Linked DNA regions of Homo sapiens: all the other regions are linked to region 2. Evidence: promoter capture Hi-C in 16 types of primary human blood cells and fetal thymus (Javierre and others, 2016). All regions are on one chromosome and are shown on one strand. The core of a region is centred on a gene start or on the middle of the fragment in contact, and the rest is flanking DNA. Distances in the headings are between cores, read along the strand shown.

What was found. The method cuts DNA at HindIII sites, captures the fragments that hold promoters and counts their contacts. A CHiCAGO score of 5 or more calls a contact.
Region 1: a fragment that was not itself captured here is called in contact with the fragment with the promoter of TRAPPC3 in region 2 in 10 of 17 cell types (neutrophils, naive B cells, activated CD4 T cells and 7 more); the score reaches 9.8 in neutrophils.
Region 3: a fragment that was not itself captured here is called in contact with the fragment with the promoter of TRAPPC3 in region 2 in 6 of 17 cell types (neutrophils, naive B cells, activated CD4 T cells and 3 more); the score reaches 8.7 in neutrophils.

What each region holds. Positions count from the first base shown.
Region 1 is chr1:36,459,452-36,462,833 of GRCh38, reverse strand. It overlaps MRPS15 (mitochondrial ribosomal protein S15), which reads left to right. Exons shown (of 8, transcript NM_031280.4): 3 at 671-746; 4 at 1,522-1,570; 5 at 2,058-2,142. Among named protein-coding and RNA genes, the nearest start is that of MRPS15, 3.2 kb to the left of the region's middle. The HindIII fragment of the contact is 974 bases long and covers 852-1,825 here.
Region 2 is chr1:36,147,755-36,151,299 of GRCh38, reverse strand. TRAPPC3 (trafficking protein particle complex subunit 3) reads left to right here and starts at 1,814. Exons shown (of 5, transcript NM_014408.5): 1 at 1,814-1,963. The coding sequence starts at 1,922. RefSeq lists enhancers at 1,261-1,920, 2,051-2,130, 1,484-2,144. The HindIII fragment of the contact is 15,390 bases long and covers 1-3,545 here.
Region 3 is chr1:36,441,216-36,444,826 of GRCh38, reverse strand. The region is part of intron 1 of OSCP1 (organic solute carrier partner 1); the gene reads left to right. It overlaps LOC107984940 (a long non-coding RNA gene), which reads right to left. Exons shown (of 3, transcript XR_001737976.2): 2 at 94-226. Among named protein-coding and RNA genes, the nearest start is that of OSCP1, 7.4 kb to the left of the region's middle. The HindIII fragment of the contact is 1,167 bases long and covers 1,344-2,510 here.

The DNA of each region.
Region 1 (3,382 bases), core at 89-2,588, 310 kb before region 2:
ATTTATTGCTATTAATATATTTTTAATATAATTCTTTTCTGCCTCCCTATCAGAATCAACTTGAGCTGTTACAGACAGAAGAGGCCCATTAATGTTATTTGCATAGCAGGGTCTGACTGGAGAGGATAAGTCCATCTACTCTATGCCTCTTCCTCATCTCCAAGGGATAGCAGGGGTGCACACACCAAGACTGAGGTTTTCCTGTGATCTCTACTTGGTGCTTACATTTCAGGCATCGTACAGCTAGCTGCCTTTCCTCAACCCCCTTAATTCATACATGCAGTCAGCCAGCAAGTGTTTGTTGAGTGCCTAGTCTAGGCTGAGCCATGGGCCAGACTATGGTGGATTCCAAGGGAGTCAAACTCTGTCCTATCCACAGGAGGACCCATCCTAGTGGGGGATCTGAGAACTGTAGAGCCAGATAGGTGTGTGAAAGGTGCAGGCACAGTGTAGGGTCTTGGGAAAAGCCACCTACTCGCAACATGAAATATCAAAGCAGGTGCCCACGGAGTTTGCAAAGGAGAAACTGAGCCGAGAGATATCCAGTGCTTTGCTTGAGACCCTGAATGTCCCTTCTGGAGTTGGAGAGTGGGTGAAAAGAGCCAGGTCTGGGAGGGTGGGCAGCGAGAGTTGACTCTGGGTGTTTTCTATCCCCATATTTACTTGACAGCCCAGTCTAGGCTGGATGATGACCCACCTCCCTCTACGCTGCTCAAAGACTACCAGAATGTCCCTGGAATTGAGAAGTAAGCAGGAAGAAACCTAGTAGAGGAGGCAGGGGGCCCTGGGAGGATTGTCGGGGAGTGGGGAAAGACAGTGGCTTTGAGACTTGGCTTGCTGTAGCTGAAGCTTGATCTAGAAGGAGGCAGGGGCCCAGGTGTCCAGGTGTGGTGAGGGTGGGTGGTCAGCAAGGCAGATGGCACTCATGGAGCTCGGCTACTTGGGGGTTTTTTTGTACTCTAGATGAACACCCTGTACCACTAGATTCCAAGGAGCTAACATACTTCACAGGTCTTTGTAGAAATCTCTCATCTCTTGTTCCTCACAAAAGCTGTATGTCCCCATTTTATAGATTTTCAAGCTGTCCAGTGTCATACAGTTCTAAAGGGCAGAGCTAGAGTTTGAATCCAGGGCTGACTGACACCAAAGCCAGAGGCCCTCTGCTCAGCTCCTATGCAGTGTGGTGGGAGCTGGTCAGTCCCTCCCACTGTGCAATTTAACTTGAAATGTCTCAAAACAGATTGAACCATGTTGTAGCTAAAATGGAAATCCTCTCCTTGCCCTCCCTGTGATGAGACCGGAACAGTCGAGCTGACAGCCCCAGTTTCTGTAGTTTCAGCCCAGCAAGCCAGATCCACACTGACTTTTAATCCCTGGGAAATGGCTCCCCACCTCCAGGGAGATTCATTTGCTACAGAAGGAATTTTTCAATCATCTTTGCTTTTCAAACTAAAATGAAACCAGCATTGCTTTCCTCTCTTCTCCCCCAATGTCTGTCTCATTGCTGTGGTTTATCCACAGGGTTGATGATGTCGTGAAAAGACTCTTGTCTTTGGAAATGGCCAACAAGGTGAGCAGCCTCTGCCAAGCCTCAGCCTCCCGCAGTCTTCTCCTCTGGGACTCCCTTCTACCCTGATTAGCACCCCGCATCTCATGCTTCTCCAGTCACAGCACTTAGCCCACTGTCATTCTGCCTCCATTTGTCAATATCCCTAGACAGAGCATCTTCAGGGCAGGGACACTTTTGTTCCCCCACCATACCCCTAGCACCTGACAAACAGGTGCTCAGTGAATGAATGAATGAGCATAAATGAATGAGCAAGCTTTGGGGACATTCATGCAACAAGTCATTTCCTCTGTCAGTGGCTTTGGCTTTGGGCTCACCTGGATGTGGATAGCCATGTGGTTGGTCAAGGCCACAGTGAGCAGAGTGAAGTCAGGCCCTGAGCCTTATGGCCCTAGTTGCTATAACTGTAGCCAGGGCCCTTGGGGGGAGGAGGGCTAGTTCTTAGAGGGTGGCAGACTCCACAGATTTTCTCTGTCTCTGTCTTCAACAGAAGGAGATGCTAAAAATCAAGCAAGAACAGTTTATGAAGAAGATTGTTGCAAACCCAGAGGACACCAGATCCCTGGAGGCTCGAAGTTGGTCGGGGACCCTTGGGGAGTGGGGGTGTAGGGAAGCCTGCTAGCTGGGACCTGATCTAGGGCTCTTGTCTACAAGCACATGCACATGGGCTGGGGAAAGGGAGAGACATGAAGGACCTAGGGCAATGAAAATTGGACCCTGTATCCCAAGCTCTGATGCTGGAGTCAACACCCAGTTGGACCTTGTACCACTGTGTGAGCTTGGGTAAGTCACCAACCCTCTCTTGGAGCCCCTGCTTCCTCATCTGGAAATGGGGGAATAAGGGAGAGCAGAGCAGAGGTAATGTTACCCACCTCATGGCAGCATTGTGAGAGGCAGCTAGGGGATGTAAACACACCTTGGAAACTAAAGCTCACGATGTGTGATAATAATAGTAAGACTAGGCCAGGCGCGGTGGCTCACGCCTGTAATCCCAGCACTTTGGGAGGCCAAGCAGGTGGATCACAAGGTCAGGAGATCAAGACCATCCTGGCTAACACGGTGAAACCCCGTCTCTACTAAAAATACAAAAAATTAGCCGGGCATGGTGGCGGGCGCCTGTAGTCCTAGCTACTGGGGCTGAGGCAGGAGAATGGCGTGAACCTGGGAGGCGGAGCTTGCAGTGAGCCGAGATCGCGCCACTGCACTCTCGCCTGGGCAACAGAGCGAGACTCCGTCTCGAAAATAAAAAAATAAGACCAACATTTTGAACCCTCTTGTGCCAGACAGACACCATGGTGCATTCCCAAGGGAATAATGTTGCTACTTTGGTTCAGGCTAGAACTGGCAGTAGTCCTCATTAGATGTGAGTGAAAAGCACCACCATTTCCCCCTCTCTCTGGGTGCAGTTTCTCTTCATTGCCCACTGAGAGCAAGTGAGGTAGACTAGTGGACCTGCAGAGGATCTGCACACTTTCTCTCCTTTGCCATTGGCCTATATTATAGCCTCCTCCTCCTCTTCCACCCTCCTGCCTTCATTCTTCTCCCTTCATTCTTTTCTTCTCCCTCTGCCAGGGATTAAAGTCTGGTGAGTTCATCTTGGATACTAAAACCCCATTGAGAACTGGACTCAAGGGTCCTCCATAGCCTCTTTTGAGAAGATGAGTTTCAGCTTCCCTTGCCCTGCTAAAGCCCTGGGCTAGGGACCAGCTCAGCCACAAAAGGCCTGCTTATCTTTCCTCACCTGTTTCTGCATTATCACTACTGAAATCCCCAGGTTGGCAGGAACAAATGGCCTGGACTGGCAAGGTGGTTACT
Region 2 (3,545 bases), core at 565-3,064:
CCTCCTGCCTTTGCCTCCCAATGTGCTGGGGTTACTGGCATGAGCCACTGTGCTCGGCCTAAGAAGCCTTTAAGAACCTATCTGAGTGAGGAGGGGATCATATAGATCAACCTGAGATGGCCCCCACCCCCACTGTTCATTCAGGACTAATGACACTGCAAGTCCCAAAGAGAAAGAGACGCCAAGAGGAGGAATCCCAGGCAGAGAGAGGCAAAATCTCGGAGGCTGTTGGACAGGCAGGGAAAGGCTCCACCTCCACTCTCTCTAGAACCGCCCTGCTTGACAGCAGGCAGGGTGGGGTTGGGTGGCTGGCTGTGAGTGTGACTCAGGTTTCTGTGGGCAGCCAAGGGCAGCCGGCAGGGAGGAGCCCAGACCGACAGACCGGCTGGCCAACTGCAGCTTTCACCTCAGCTGTCCTCTGTCCTGGGAATGCAGAGGGCTCTTGTCTAGCTGAGCTGGCCCTTGGGGGCTAGTTGACTCCTGCTTTCCTCCCCCAACCCCAACCAACCCTCAAGTTCCTTCCCAGAGCCCTCGGCCCTTGGCTCCCTCCCCTGTGGCATTACACAGGATGGAGAGTGAGGGGTCACTGCCTCTAGGGAGGAAACAGAATGTCTGGGGAAAAGGGTATAATAATGATTGGTCCTGCACCCTGAGGGAGGGACTGGGGGAACCCTGGGCACCAGCTTGCAGCCTCAGCGGCCCCCCAGCCCTCCCTAGCCTGGCTGGCTCGTGTCTGGACAGGCTGGTTGTCATGGTGAGGGCTAGGGGCCAGAATGCAGCTGCTACAGTCAGGCTACCAGGCCTAAGTGAACAGAGAGTGCTCAGGGACCCCCCAGCCCAGCTTCCTCAGAGTTGACCAGCTGAGAGACCGCGGGAGCTGAAACCAAAGAGCTGTGGTCAGGGACTATAGACTTCCCCTTGGTGATGGGTGAGAGTTCAGCCAGCACATTCCCTTCGTGTTTCTGGTGCCTGTTTGTTGGCTTGTTTTTGGAGGGTGGCTGGAAGGGAATACACGTTTCTTTTATGCCTTTTATGCGCCCAAGTGCTGGGCATGCGTGGCTCACCAGTCTTTACAACAACTGAGAGAGATTTAGCAACTTGCCTAAAATGGCAAAGCTGGGATTAGAACTCAGAACTGACGGCCACGACAGTTAGTGATCTTTGTTTTCTGGGAACCAGGCAGTGTAGCTGTTCTAGGGGGAGGGAGGGGGAGAAAGTGACTTGAACTTTACCTAAAAGACTGGATATTCCATCACGAGGCCACAGGTGGTAGAAGGCAGGTGCTGGCATCATTTGGGGTTTGGCAGTCTGAAGAGAAAGACACTAGCGAAATGCTTGGCACATAGTAGGTCATTAAATATTTTTCTAATGAAGAAGCCAATTCTGTGTGAGTCATTGCTAGTTTTCTGGGACATCTTGGGAGCTTCTGGAGCTGAATCGCAACAGCGGAAGACGCTAGCTCGAAAGAGGGACTTTCCAAGACCAACCCCGGCGAGAGAGGAATTTGTGGAGCATCATCTCTGAGCCGGGCGCGGGGGGAGGGGGACAAGGAGGAAGCGTGTGTGTGACCCAGGATTACCGAAGGCTGCGGACGCCACCCAGCGGCCAGGATGCTGCCCAGCGCAAGCTGGGCTCTACCAGGCAGGCGCGCGCGGAGCACTCCGGGAGTTGTAGTTGACTGTGTTAAGAGGCGGTGCTGCCAAAGGGGCTGTTGGGTGTTGTAGTCTGACGTTTGTTGGGCGGGAGTTGCCCACGTCGGCCGGACCACTAGTCCCGTGGTGCCCCGCGGGAGGCCGCGCAGGCGCAGTGAGTCAGTGCCGGTCGGTCTTGTGGGCTGAGGGGCAGCGGCTTAGGCTCCGGCGTCTGCAGGGGTCGCCGAGCTAACCCGTGGCTAGGCGAGTGGGGCGGGGCGGCCGGCACCATGTCGAGGCAGGCGAACCGTGGCACCGAGAGCAAGAAAATGGTAACTTGGAGCGCGTGACCTCGGCGGGCGGGGCGAAATTGAGGCGTACAGGGAAGGGGCCCGGCGCCGAGCGCGAGGTGCGTTTGGAAAAGGGCCTTCCTGTGAGCTCTGGCAAGGGGAAGCCTCTTGCTGGGTCACTCCGGGGGCGTTCCAGGCAGGTGAGGGGACCGTCGGAGAAGTTCCCCGGAGGAGACCCCGCCCCCAAGGCCTGAGTGCAGCTCTGTGCTAAGCCAACAACAACGACGGTAATAAATACCAATAACTGCCACTTAACTTCTCTCTTACTATGTGTTGGGCACCGGGCCACGCACGTTACAGCATCTCAGTTAATCTGCAGAGTAGCCCCTATCAGATGGATAACATTGCCGTTTTACAGCTTGGAGAGCTTACGTAATTTGCCCATATTTACACCTGGGAAGTTAGGATTTGGACCCGTGTTTAACTCCAAAGCTAATGCTAGGAGCTGACTGTTAGGCTTTACTCTTAGGCTACAGTGTCTCGTACTGTGGCGTGGGTATTGTGAGAGATGTTCAGATACTGGTCGTGCCAGAAAGGAACGTTTTATTCAATGGAATAAGAGATGGGCCAGAGTAAGCAGTGAGTGGTGCCCCTCTAATGGAGTGGGTGGCTCCCTTCTTTCCCAGGGAATAGTTTGGACACCATATGGTCCTATAAAGTTGGACTAGGGGCTGGGGCTGCAGACTTAGGTCATTTTTCTTTCGTTCTTCCCTCCCTCCCCCCGCCCCCAGACGAAATCTCTGTCACCCGGGGTGGAGTGCAGTGGCACTAACTTGGCTCACTGCAACCTCTGCCTCCCAGGTTCAAGCAGTTCTTCTGCCTCAGCCTCCCGAGTAGCTGGGATTACAGGTGTCCACCACCACGCCTGGCTGATTTTTGTATTTTTAGTAGAGATGGGGTTTCACCATGTTGGCCAGGCTGGTCTCGAACTCCTGACCTCAGGTGATCCGCCTGTCTCGGCCTCCCAAAGTGCTGGGATTACAGGCGTGAGCCACTGCGCCTGACCAATTTTTGTATTTTTAGTAGAGACGGGGTTTCACCATGTTGGCCAGCCTGGTCTCGAACTCGTGGCCTTAAGTGATCTGCCTGTTCAGGCTCCCAAAGTGCTGGGATTACAGGGGTGAGCCACCACACCCGGCCAAAAGACGAGAATATTTTGTTAGGAAACAATGTCAGGTAAGGGGAAACACATGGACCTTGGTTGGAATTCTGACTTACTTGATTGATCTTCAATTTCTTTATCTATAAAATGGGGATAGTAATGTCTACCTAATATTAAATGGGATGGTGTAAAATGTGAGGGGCATGGTAAATGTTTCTTTCTCCTTTTCCTATGAGATGAGTAGAGGTCTTCCTGGTTAGTTTTTGTACTTTGCTCTCATTTTATCCATTTTTTAAGCCTGAAATCAATATTGAAATCTTTAACAAAAATCTGCAGACTCTACCCCCAGCCCCCAGTATTCTTCGTTTCAGTGAAGTAAGGTAATTAGGGAGGGGCAGCAGCATACTCCTGCCCTCAAGGCTCTTGGAACTCCCTTCTTCTAGATAGTCACTTAGCCCACTC
Region 3 (3,611 bases), core at 678-3,177, 290 kb before region 2:
TTTACGAAGGAAACTGAGGTTAAACAAGTTGCTTGAAGTTTATATAGCCAGTAAGTAGAGCCAGGTTTCAACCCATAGAGTCTTGATTCTCACCGATTTCTCTAGCCAACTGCATTTTTCCTTATTTGGTCTCCTCTTGGGATCTCCCCAGCTGCCTTTGTCCTCAGAAGCTTTCTTCATAGTGGTCCCATCATTATTCGCTTCTTTTTACATGGAAATCATGCATCTATATATATAAAAAGTAAAACAGAAACAAATGCTGACATTTTCCTTTTAATTCACATTTCAAGTTTTCTAATTTGAGCAGTTCCATCTGTCCTCTAGAAAGGGAAATCTTACATTAATAAAAAAAAAAGAAAAGAAAAGAAAACTCAGATTGTATACAAAGAAACTCTTTTCTCTGCCTGTTCTTGGAATTATTCTTCCTCATGGAGGCTAGCGTCTTTAAAAGCCTACTACTGAATGATATGTATTCTTGTAGCATTAGAGAGCGGGGCTTCTTGGGCCTTTCAAGATGAACCACAGGATAGCTAATCCTCCTCAGTTTACTCTCTTCTTAGGCCAGTCTCTGTAAGACATAGCCTTTCTTGAGCTTTTTTGAAATATGTTGTTTATCCATCATCCTTTTAAAGGTTTCAAATAGAAGGCAGTGTGCTCACATTAGACATTAAATGCCAACGTGAAAAGTAAAGTTTCATAGATAAGATCATTGGAATTGGTATGTTTAAAGCCTCCTTGAAAATAATGTTCTTGCTTCATGAACTGGTGTTTTCTTTTTGTATGCTTCATGTAGATGAATGGACAGAGGTGGACAGAAAACGAGGTATGCTATCTCCGGGCTGCATGTGTTCAGTGTGCATCCACAGGTTCACTCAGGCCTTTATCAGCAGGGCTTAAAATGGGACCGCTTGAAACATTTCAAAGTCAAAGTAAGAAAATAGGCATGAGTTTGTCTTTAGCTGAGATATTGGTTATACATTTGAATCTTTTACTTAAGAGGAAGAAATACAGCATGTTAAGATGAAAACTAAGCAAACTCTGACCAAAAAGCCACACTGTACTTGAGGGATATGTCTCCTTTTCTCAGTTCCAAGCTTTGCTGGGACAGCTGGGGCAATAGCCATACTTTGGGGTATGTCATCCTATTTGGTAGTCCTTAAAACAACTTTGTTTTGTCATGTAACCAAAGAATTGTGCTTCAACATGAGTGACCCTCCCTGAGCCATTCTCCTAAGCTCACAGAGCAACCGAGAAAAATTGAAGCATGTAACTGCATGGCTGCCAGGACTGTGGGCAGAAGGCATGACATCATGCATGCAGTGTGGCCTCATCATGCAAAAGCTTCAGTTTCCCCTTACCTACTGCAAGCAGGAAACCTGAAAAAGTTGTCGACTCCTCAGAATAAAGCCTTAGACTTTCTCAGCCTTTAAATAAATCTCAGATACCTTCTGTCATTTGACATTTGGGTGTGGTGTGTGCCTATCATCAGCCATCCTCCTCAATATTTTAAATGCTCTCACCACACCAAGTATGCTGGGAAGACAACCTGTATAATATTTAAGAGGCCAGGTGCAGTGGCTCACACCTGTAATCCCAGCACTTTGGGAATCTGAGGCAGGAGGATCACTTGAGGTCAGGAGTTCGAGGCCAGCCTGGCCAACATGGTGAAACCCTGTCTCTACTAAAAATACAAAAATTACCTGGGCATGGTGGTGGGCACTTATAATCCCAGCTACTTGGGAGACTGAGGCAGGAGAATCACTTGAACCTGGGAGGCAGAGGTTGCAGTGAGCCGAGATCTTGCCACTGCACTCCAGCCTGGGCGACAGAGCGAGACTCCACTTCAAAAATAATAATAATAATAATAATATTTAAAAGCACAGGCATTAAATCAAACAGACCTAATTCTAATTTCAGCTCCATCACCAGCTGTGTGACCTTGGACTTTAAACTCTCTGATTCAGTTTTCCTCCTTAATAGAATGAGGATAATATAAAACGATAAGTGGTCTGGCAGGAAAAAAAAATGAGGATAATAATTCAGAGTTGTCTTGGAGTTTAAATGAGATAATGCATATAAAGTTCTAAGCCCAGTGCCTGGGACATAGAAAGGATTGAAACATGGTAACTATTCAGGAGGGTTTCCTAGCCTCTCTCTAAATTCTTGGCTCCAAATTTCATATTCCCATAAACAAGTCAATTTAGAGCAGAGGTAATTGGTAAAAACTTGATTGCTTTCATCAAGATAATTATTTCATCAGACCAGTCTCGAAAAAAAGCCCAATTGAAGTACTTGGTACACTTTATTACATTTCACAACCATCGTTTGACACTTCTTGAGCAATTTTTGACCCGTCCCTCCCTTGATGCATAGCAGAATTTCAGGTATGAAGTGTGGATTTTGAGAGCTTTTCATATACATAATTGAATCATTGAAATTTATTTTAACATAAATGTTCAAAAATAATGAACAGAAACTGGCTTCATAATCTGAACCCAGGACTAGAAGCTTGCTATGTTGAGAACCCAATTACCAACTTTCTGAGGCTCCTGTGAAAAATCCCTTCCCTCCCCTGCCTTAGCCTCCTTTTTTTTTTTTTTGAGACGGAGTTTCGCTCTTGTTGCCCAGGCTGGAGTGCAATGGAGCGATCCCAGCTCACTACAACCTCCGCTCCCAGGTTCAAGCAATTCTCCTGCCTCAGCCTCCTGAGTAGCTGAGATTACAGGCATGAGCCACCACGCCTGGCTAATTTTGTATTTTTAGTAGAGATGGGGTTTCTCCATGTTGGTCAGGCTGGTCTTGAACTCCCGACCTCAGGTGATCCACCCACCTCGGCCTCCCAAACTGCTGGGATTACAGGCGTGAGCCACTGCGCCCGGCCCCCCTTAGCCTCTTCCTATTGAAATCCGGCTCCTAGTATATTCCGGCCTCGTGAAAAGTATGCAGAACTCATTTGCATGCCAAAAACCAACACTTAGACTAATGGGCGGGTCTGATTAAAACTATTTCTTCAGGGATGTTAGGATGAAGGGAAAAAAATAAAAAACAAATTACTTTTTTTTTTTTTTTTTTTTTTGAGCTGGAGTCTCGCTCTGTTACCCAGGCTGGAGTTCAGTGGCGCGATCTCGGTTCACCGCAAGCTCCGCCTCCCGGGTTCACGCCATTCTCCTGCCTCAGCCTCCCGGTAGCTGGGACTGCAGGCGCCCGCCATCACGCCCGGCTAATTTTTTGTATTTTTTTTTAGTGGAGACGGGGTTTCACAGCGTTAGCCAGGATGGTCTCGATCTCCTGACTTCGTGATCCGCCCGCCTCGGCCTCCCAAAGTGCTGGGATTACAGGCGTGAGCCACCGCGCCCGTACGCTAATTAAATTTTTTAAAAAAACTATTTCTCAGGTTTAACCTAAAGATGATGTGCTGCTTCTCTAGGGCCAGGATAACATCTCCTTCCTCTTTGTGCCTGTGGTGTTTATTTCACTGTCTGGTACCTAATAGGTCTGCCTCAACCAAGGGCTGGGTGAAGCAAATTGTAAGACAAAAACATGTTAACGTGTGCCTCCATCTTATTTCCAAAGAGTGAAACGAGAAGAGGGAGCCCTAGGTGTCGTGGCCC